2 separate regions of the Homo sapiens genome follow, and region 2 is linked to region 1. Evidence: promoter capture Hi-C in 16 types of primary human blood cells and fetal thymus (Javierre and others, 2016). All regions are on one chromosome and are shown on one strand. The core of a region is centred on a gene start or on the middle of the fragment in contact, and the rest is flanking DNA. Distances in the headings are between cores, read along the strand shown.

Region 1 (2,700 bases), core at 201-2,700:
GCTGGAGCCTGAAGATACTGGGCTCCACCCAACATGTTGGGTGAGGGAAACTGGGCCATATTAGGAATTGCACAAAGATCTCAATGTAAACAGGAGCTGAACTGCAACCTGGGCATAAAGGAGAAACTGGATGTTTGGGTCCATAAGGCAGAGAAATGTTTGAGAACTTGTCTCAAAATTCTTCTGTGACCTTGAGACAGGCTTGGCCTTAAGAGCTCAGATTTGTGTGACCTTGGCCAAGTCACTTCCCTGCCCCGAACCTGAGTGTCCTCTGTGAGATGGGGGTGATGTTGCCTGCCTTGCCTACCTATCTGTGAGAGTGTTGTGAAAATCAACATCACATGTTAACAATATCCTTGACAGTGCTGGTTTCATAAATTAACACGTGCATTATTATCATCAGCCACTGTCCTCTTCCCTCCCCTCTGGGGGTTCTGTCAGCCAGCTCCAGGAGGCCCCCAACAGGACCAAGAAGTGCTGTTCCAGAAAGGACATCCCGGTCATCTAGGGGTGGCCTTCTCTATCTACGTCGTGGCCTGCCCTCCCCCTCTAACCTCCGTGCAGGGAGGGCCGTCCAGGGGTTCTGCCTGGGAGAGCCATGCCCAGGGGAGGAGGGCAGGAAGGTAGTGTGAGGGGCGGTGGCAGTGGTGGCCGCTCGCTGGCGGCACAGACTGTCTCCAAGCGGAAACCTGAGCTGGAGGAGGGGGGGCTGACAGTCCCCTCTGCCCCTCCACCAACCATGGGGCCAAGGGAAAGTTCAGCGTCCTGGAGGGCGGCCAGGAGTGGGGGTGGGGGCCCACGGAGAGCCTCCGGTCCTCGAAACACTGCCCGTGAGCGAAGACGGACGGACAGCTCCCGGAGGGCAAGACCCGCCTGGATCTGCTTTCCCGAGTCGGATCGAGGGCAGGGTGTCCCCGATTCCGGAGCGCCGCGCCGCCTACTAGGCAAGGGGGTGAACCCTGGCTCGCAGAATCCACTTGCTGCCTGTGCCCCGAAAGGCCCTCCAGACCCACTCTGCCTTTTGGTAGGATTGGAATCTCACAGTCACGGGTTGTCCAGGCCGGGTATAAATAGCCAGCCCCCTACCTTCACCCCCTGCGCCTGCGCAGGAACCACCCCCAGCTGACCCCAACCGCGACCCCAGCCCAAGAAAAGCGGGACCCGTGCCCCCCCGCCCCGCCCCCTCATGATGAATCCTACTTCGGAGCCTATCTGTTGGAAGCCCGACGGCATCTCGTCTTAGAAGAGCTGGACGCGCAGGGGCGGCGAAGATGAAAGAACCGATCCTGGAGTCTCTGACTCCGGCCTGGAGCGCAGAACCTGCGGAGGCCGCGGGGGTCCCGGAGTGACGTGCGAGGGCGGGCCCGATGGGACCCACAGCCACAAGCCAAGGACCCGGAGAGCAGTGGGGCTCCCGCGGATCTGGTGGAGCGGGGCTGGGGGAAAAGACGCGAGAAGCCCCCGCCACCTCGCTCCTGCCCCCGCGGGCCACGCCCTTCACAGCACCCATTGGCCAGGAGCCCGCACACCCCAGAAGGCCACGCCCCCTCCGCCTGGGGTTTAGAGTTTGGCTGGAGTTGGTGGGGCGGGCCAATGAGGCCACGCCCCTCCGCGTGGCTGGCGAGACACGCCTCTCGGGTTCCCGCCAGCCTCCGACTGGGAAGTTTTGAGAAAAGAGTCCCTGGAACAAAAGGCCCCGCCCACCCACGTGTTAGGACTCCGCCCACCAGCTAGGATCCCGGGCTGCAGAAGCATCTTAAACTCTGCGGGTCTGGACAGTGGGGTCTGAGAGGAGAGGACGGGCCAGGTGTACTTGCCCCGGGGAAACTCCAGCGGCCTGAGACGGCTCGCGAGCCGGCGCGCGGGTTGGGAGAGGAGCAATGCCCCAAAGTAACCCGGGGCTGCTATTTTTAGCTCCCACGTTGGGAGCCTCCAAATGTCAGGTCCCGGGCGTCCCGGCCTGTCCCAGGCGGGGGCGGAGAGACAGGGAGATGACGCCTTAAAGAGTCCGCGACATGCTTCCCACGCGAGTGTGGCCCTGGGGGCCAGGAAATTCCGTTCCCACAACGGGTCTGGTGGCCGGGCTGCTTGGTCCTGTCTTTCAGCGCCTCCCTGCTCCGGGCACTGTCTATCCCGCCCTTCCCCTACACACATTCCCCAGGTTGGTTCCTGGAGCCGGTCCGAGGGACAAGTGGTCACAACCGACCACACCACCAGCCCTGAGGTCTCTGAGCCTCTGAGGTCTCTGAGCATATGCTGGCCGCGTGAACGACACGCTCTCTGGAGGCTGCTCCGGGTTTGGATCCTCGGCCAAATTCTGCCAGGCAGAAAGTGCGCGACCTAGGGTCGGCGTGTGGGGAGAGAGAAGCCGAAATACCCAGAGCGTGGAGAGTGTCTGGCTCAGAAAACGGGCTTCGGAAGCGCAGGGTTGTGCTGCCACCTGGAGGGCGAGCGAGGAGCCGCAGTGGATTGCACTTGGAATCTCAACCCACTATTTCTCGCCTTTCCGCCACCATAGGGCTTCAGTGACATCTGACCCAGGCCCTTCTCTGGAGCTGCAGATCCAGGTGTTCGTTACCGCCCGGATGTGGCAGCTCTAGTGATCAGCATGTCCAAACCTGCTCCTCCTCCTAACTTCCTTATTTCAATGAATTACCCGCCCAGTCACCCCTATGGTAGAAGTCAGGCTCGATTCCTCCT
Region 2 (2,700 bases), core at 201-2,700, 390 kb before region 1:
AGATTAAAGAAGCCGAGACGGGCCATTCGTGAGGGGTTTGTAATGCAGGGCTGAGGAGTGTCCGAAGAGAATGGGCAGGTGAGCGGTGAGACAGTTGTTCTTCCAGAAGCTTTGCAGTGAAAGGAATCAAAGAAATGGAGCCGTGTATCAGGTGGGGAAGGGTGGGGGCCAAGGGGGTGTCCTTCCCCATACAGAGATTGCAGGCTGAGAATGACTATATCCTTGTTAACAGGAGGTGGGAGCAGGGCACGGTAGCTCACACCTGTAATCTTGGCACTTTAGGAGGCTGAGGCGGGCCGATCACCTGAAGTAAGGAGTTCGAGACCAGCCTGGCCAACATGCAAAGCCCTGTCTCTACTAAAAATACAAAAATTAGCTGGGTGTGGTGGTACTCGCCTGTAATCCCAGCTACTCGGGAGACTGAGGCAGGAGAATGGCTTGAACCCGGAAGGTAGAGGTTGCAGTGAGCTGAGATCATGCCACTGTGCTCCAGCCTAGGTGACAGAGAGAGACTCCATCTCAAAAAAAAAAAAAAAATACAGGAAGGGAGTTGGGAATAGGGTGCACATTTAGGAAGTCTTGGGGATTTAGTGGTGGGAAGGTTGGAAGTCCCTCTCTGATTGTCTTTTCCTCAAAGAAGTGCATGGCTGGTGAGGGGTGGGGCAGGAGTGCTTGGGTTGTGGTGAAACATTGGAAGAGAGAATGTGAAGCAGCCATTCTTTTCCTGCTCCACAGGAAGCCGAGCTGTCTCAGACACTGGCATGGTGTTGGGGGAGGGGGTTCCTTCTCTGCAGGCCCAGGTGACCCAGGGTTGGAAGTGTCTCATGCTGGATCCCCACTTTTCCTCTTGCAGCAGCCAGACTGCCTTCCGGGTCACTGCCATGGAGGAGCCGCAGTCAGATCCTAGCGTCGAGCCCCCTCTGAGTCAGGAAACATTTTCAGACCTATGGAAACTGTGAGTGGATCCATTGGAAGGGCAGGCCCACCACCCCCACCCCAACCCCAGCCCCCTAGCAGAGACCTGTGGGAAGCGAAAATTCCATGGGACTGACTTTCTGCTCTTGTCTTTCAGACTTCCTGAAAACAACGTTCTGGTAAGGACAAGGGTTGGGCTGGGGACCTGGAGGGCTGGGGACCTGGAGGGCTGGGGGGCTGGGGGGCTGAGGACCTGGTCCTCTGACTGCTCTTTTCACCCATCTACAGTCCCCCTTGCCGTCCCAAGCAATGGATGATTTGATGCTGTCCCCGGACGATATTGAACAATGGTTCACTGAAGACCCAGGTCCAGATGAAGCTCCCAGAATGCCAGAGGCTGCTCCCCCCGTGGCCCCTGCACCAGCAGCTCCTACACCGGCGGCCCCTGCACCAGCCCCCTCCTGGCCCCTGTCATCTTCTGTCCCTTCCCAGAAAACCTACCAGGGCAGCTACGGTTTCCGTCTGGGCTTCTTGCATTCTGGGACAGCCAAGTCTGTGACTTGCACGGTCAGTTGCCCTGAGGGGCTGGCTTCCATGAGACTTCAATGCCTGGCCGTATCCCCCTGCATTTCTTTTGTTTGGAACTTTGGGATTCCTCTTCACCCTTTGGCTTCCTGTCAGTGTTTTTTTATAGTTTACCCACTTAATGTGTGATCTCTGACTCCTGTCCCAAAGTTGAATATTCCCCCCTTGAATTTGGGCTTTTATCCATCCCATCACACCCTCAGCATCTCTCCTGGGGATGCAGAACTTTTCTTTTTCTTCATCCACGTGTATTCCTTGGCTTTTGAAAATAAGCTCCTGACCAGGCTTGGTGGCTCACACCTGCAATCCCAGCACTCTCAAAGAGGCCAAGGCAGGCAGATCACCTGAGCCCAGGAGTTCAAGACCAGCCTGGGTAACATGATGAAACCTCGTCTCTACAAAAAAATACAAAAAATTAGCCAGGCATGGTGGTGCACACCTATAGTCCCAGCCACTTAGGAGGCTGAGGTGGGAAGATCACTTGAGGCCAGGAGATGGAGGCTGCAGTGAGCTGTGATCACACCACTGTGCTCCAGCCTGAGTGACAGAGCAAGACCCTATCTCAAAAAAAAAAAAAAAAAAGAAAAGCTCCTGAGGTGTAGACGCCAACTCTCTCTAGCTCGCTAGTGGGTTGCAGGAGGTGCTTACGCATGTTTGTTTCTTTGCTGCCGTCTTCCAGTTGCTTTATCTGTTCACTTGTGCCCTGACTTTCAACTCTGTCTCCTTCCTCTTCCTACAGTACTCCCCTGCCCTCAACAAGATGTTTTGCCAACTGGCCAAGACCTGCCCTGTGCAGCTGTGGGTTGATTCCACACCCCCGCCCGGCACCCGCGTCCGCGCCATGGCCATCTACAAGCAGTCACAGCACATGACGGAGGTTGTGAGGCGCTGCCCCCACCATGAGCGCTGCTCAGATAGCGATGGTGAGCAGCTGGGGCTGGAGAGACGACAGGGCTGGTTGCCCAGGGTCCCCAGGCCTCTGATTCCTCACTGATTGCTCTTAGGTCTGGCCCCTCCTCAGCATCTTATCCGAGTGGAAGGAAATTTGCGTGTGGAGTATTTGGATGACAGAAACACTTTTCGACATAGTGTGGTGGTGCCCTATGAGCCGCCTGAGGTCTGGTTTGCAACTGGGGTCTCTGGGAGGAGGGGTTAAGGGTGGTTGTCAGTGGCCCTCCAGGTGAGCAGTAGGGGGGCTTT

What was found. Contacts are between HindIII fragments. The CHiCAGO score rates a contact against its expected background, and 5 or more counts as called.
Region 2: a fragment that was not itself captured here is called in contact with the fragment with the promoter of SLC2A4 in region 1 in 2 of 17 cell types (neutrophils and activated CD4 T cells); the score reaches 5.6 in neutrophils.

The regions. Positions count from the first base shown.
Region 1 is chr17:7,280,468-7,283,167 of GRCh38, reverse strand. SLC2A4 (solute carrier family 2 member 4) reads right to left here and starts at 1,450. Exons shown (of 11, transcript NM_001042.3): 1 at 1,201-1,450. The coding sequence starts at 1,233. RefSeq lists an enhancer at 217-1,204 and a silencer at 1,337-1,486. The HindIII fragment of the contact is 20,977 bases long and covers 1-2,700 here.
Region 2 is chr17:7,674,776-7,677,475 of GRCh38, reverse strand. It overlaps TP53 (tumor protein p53), which reads left to right. Exons shown (of 11, transcript NM_000546.6): 2 at 854-955; 3 at 1,073-1,094; 4 at 1,204-1,482; 5 at 2,240-2,423; 6 at 2,505-2,617. The coding sequence starts at 882. Among named protein-coding and RNA genes, the nearest start is that of TP53, 11 kb to the left of the region's middle. RefSeq lists an enhancer at 1-507. The HindIII fragment of the contact is 2,678 bases long and covers 112-2,700 here.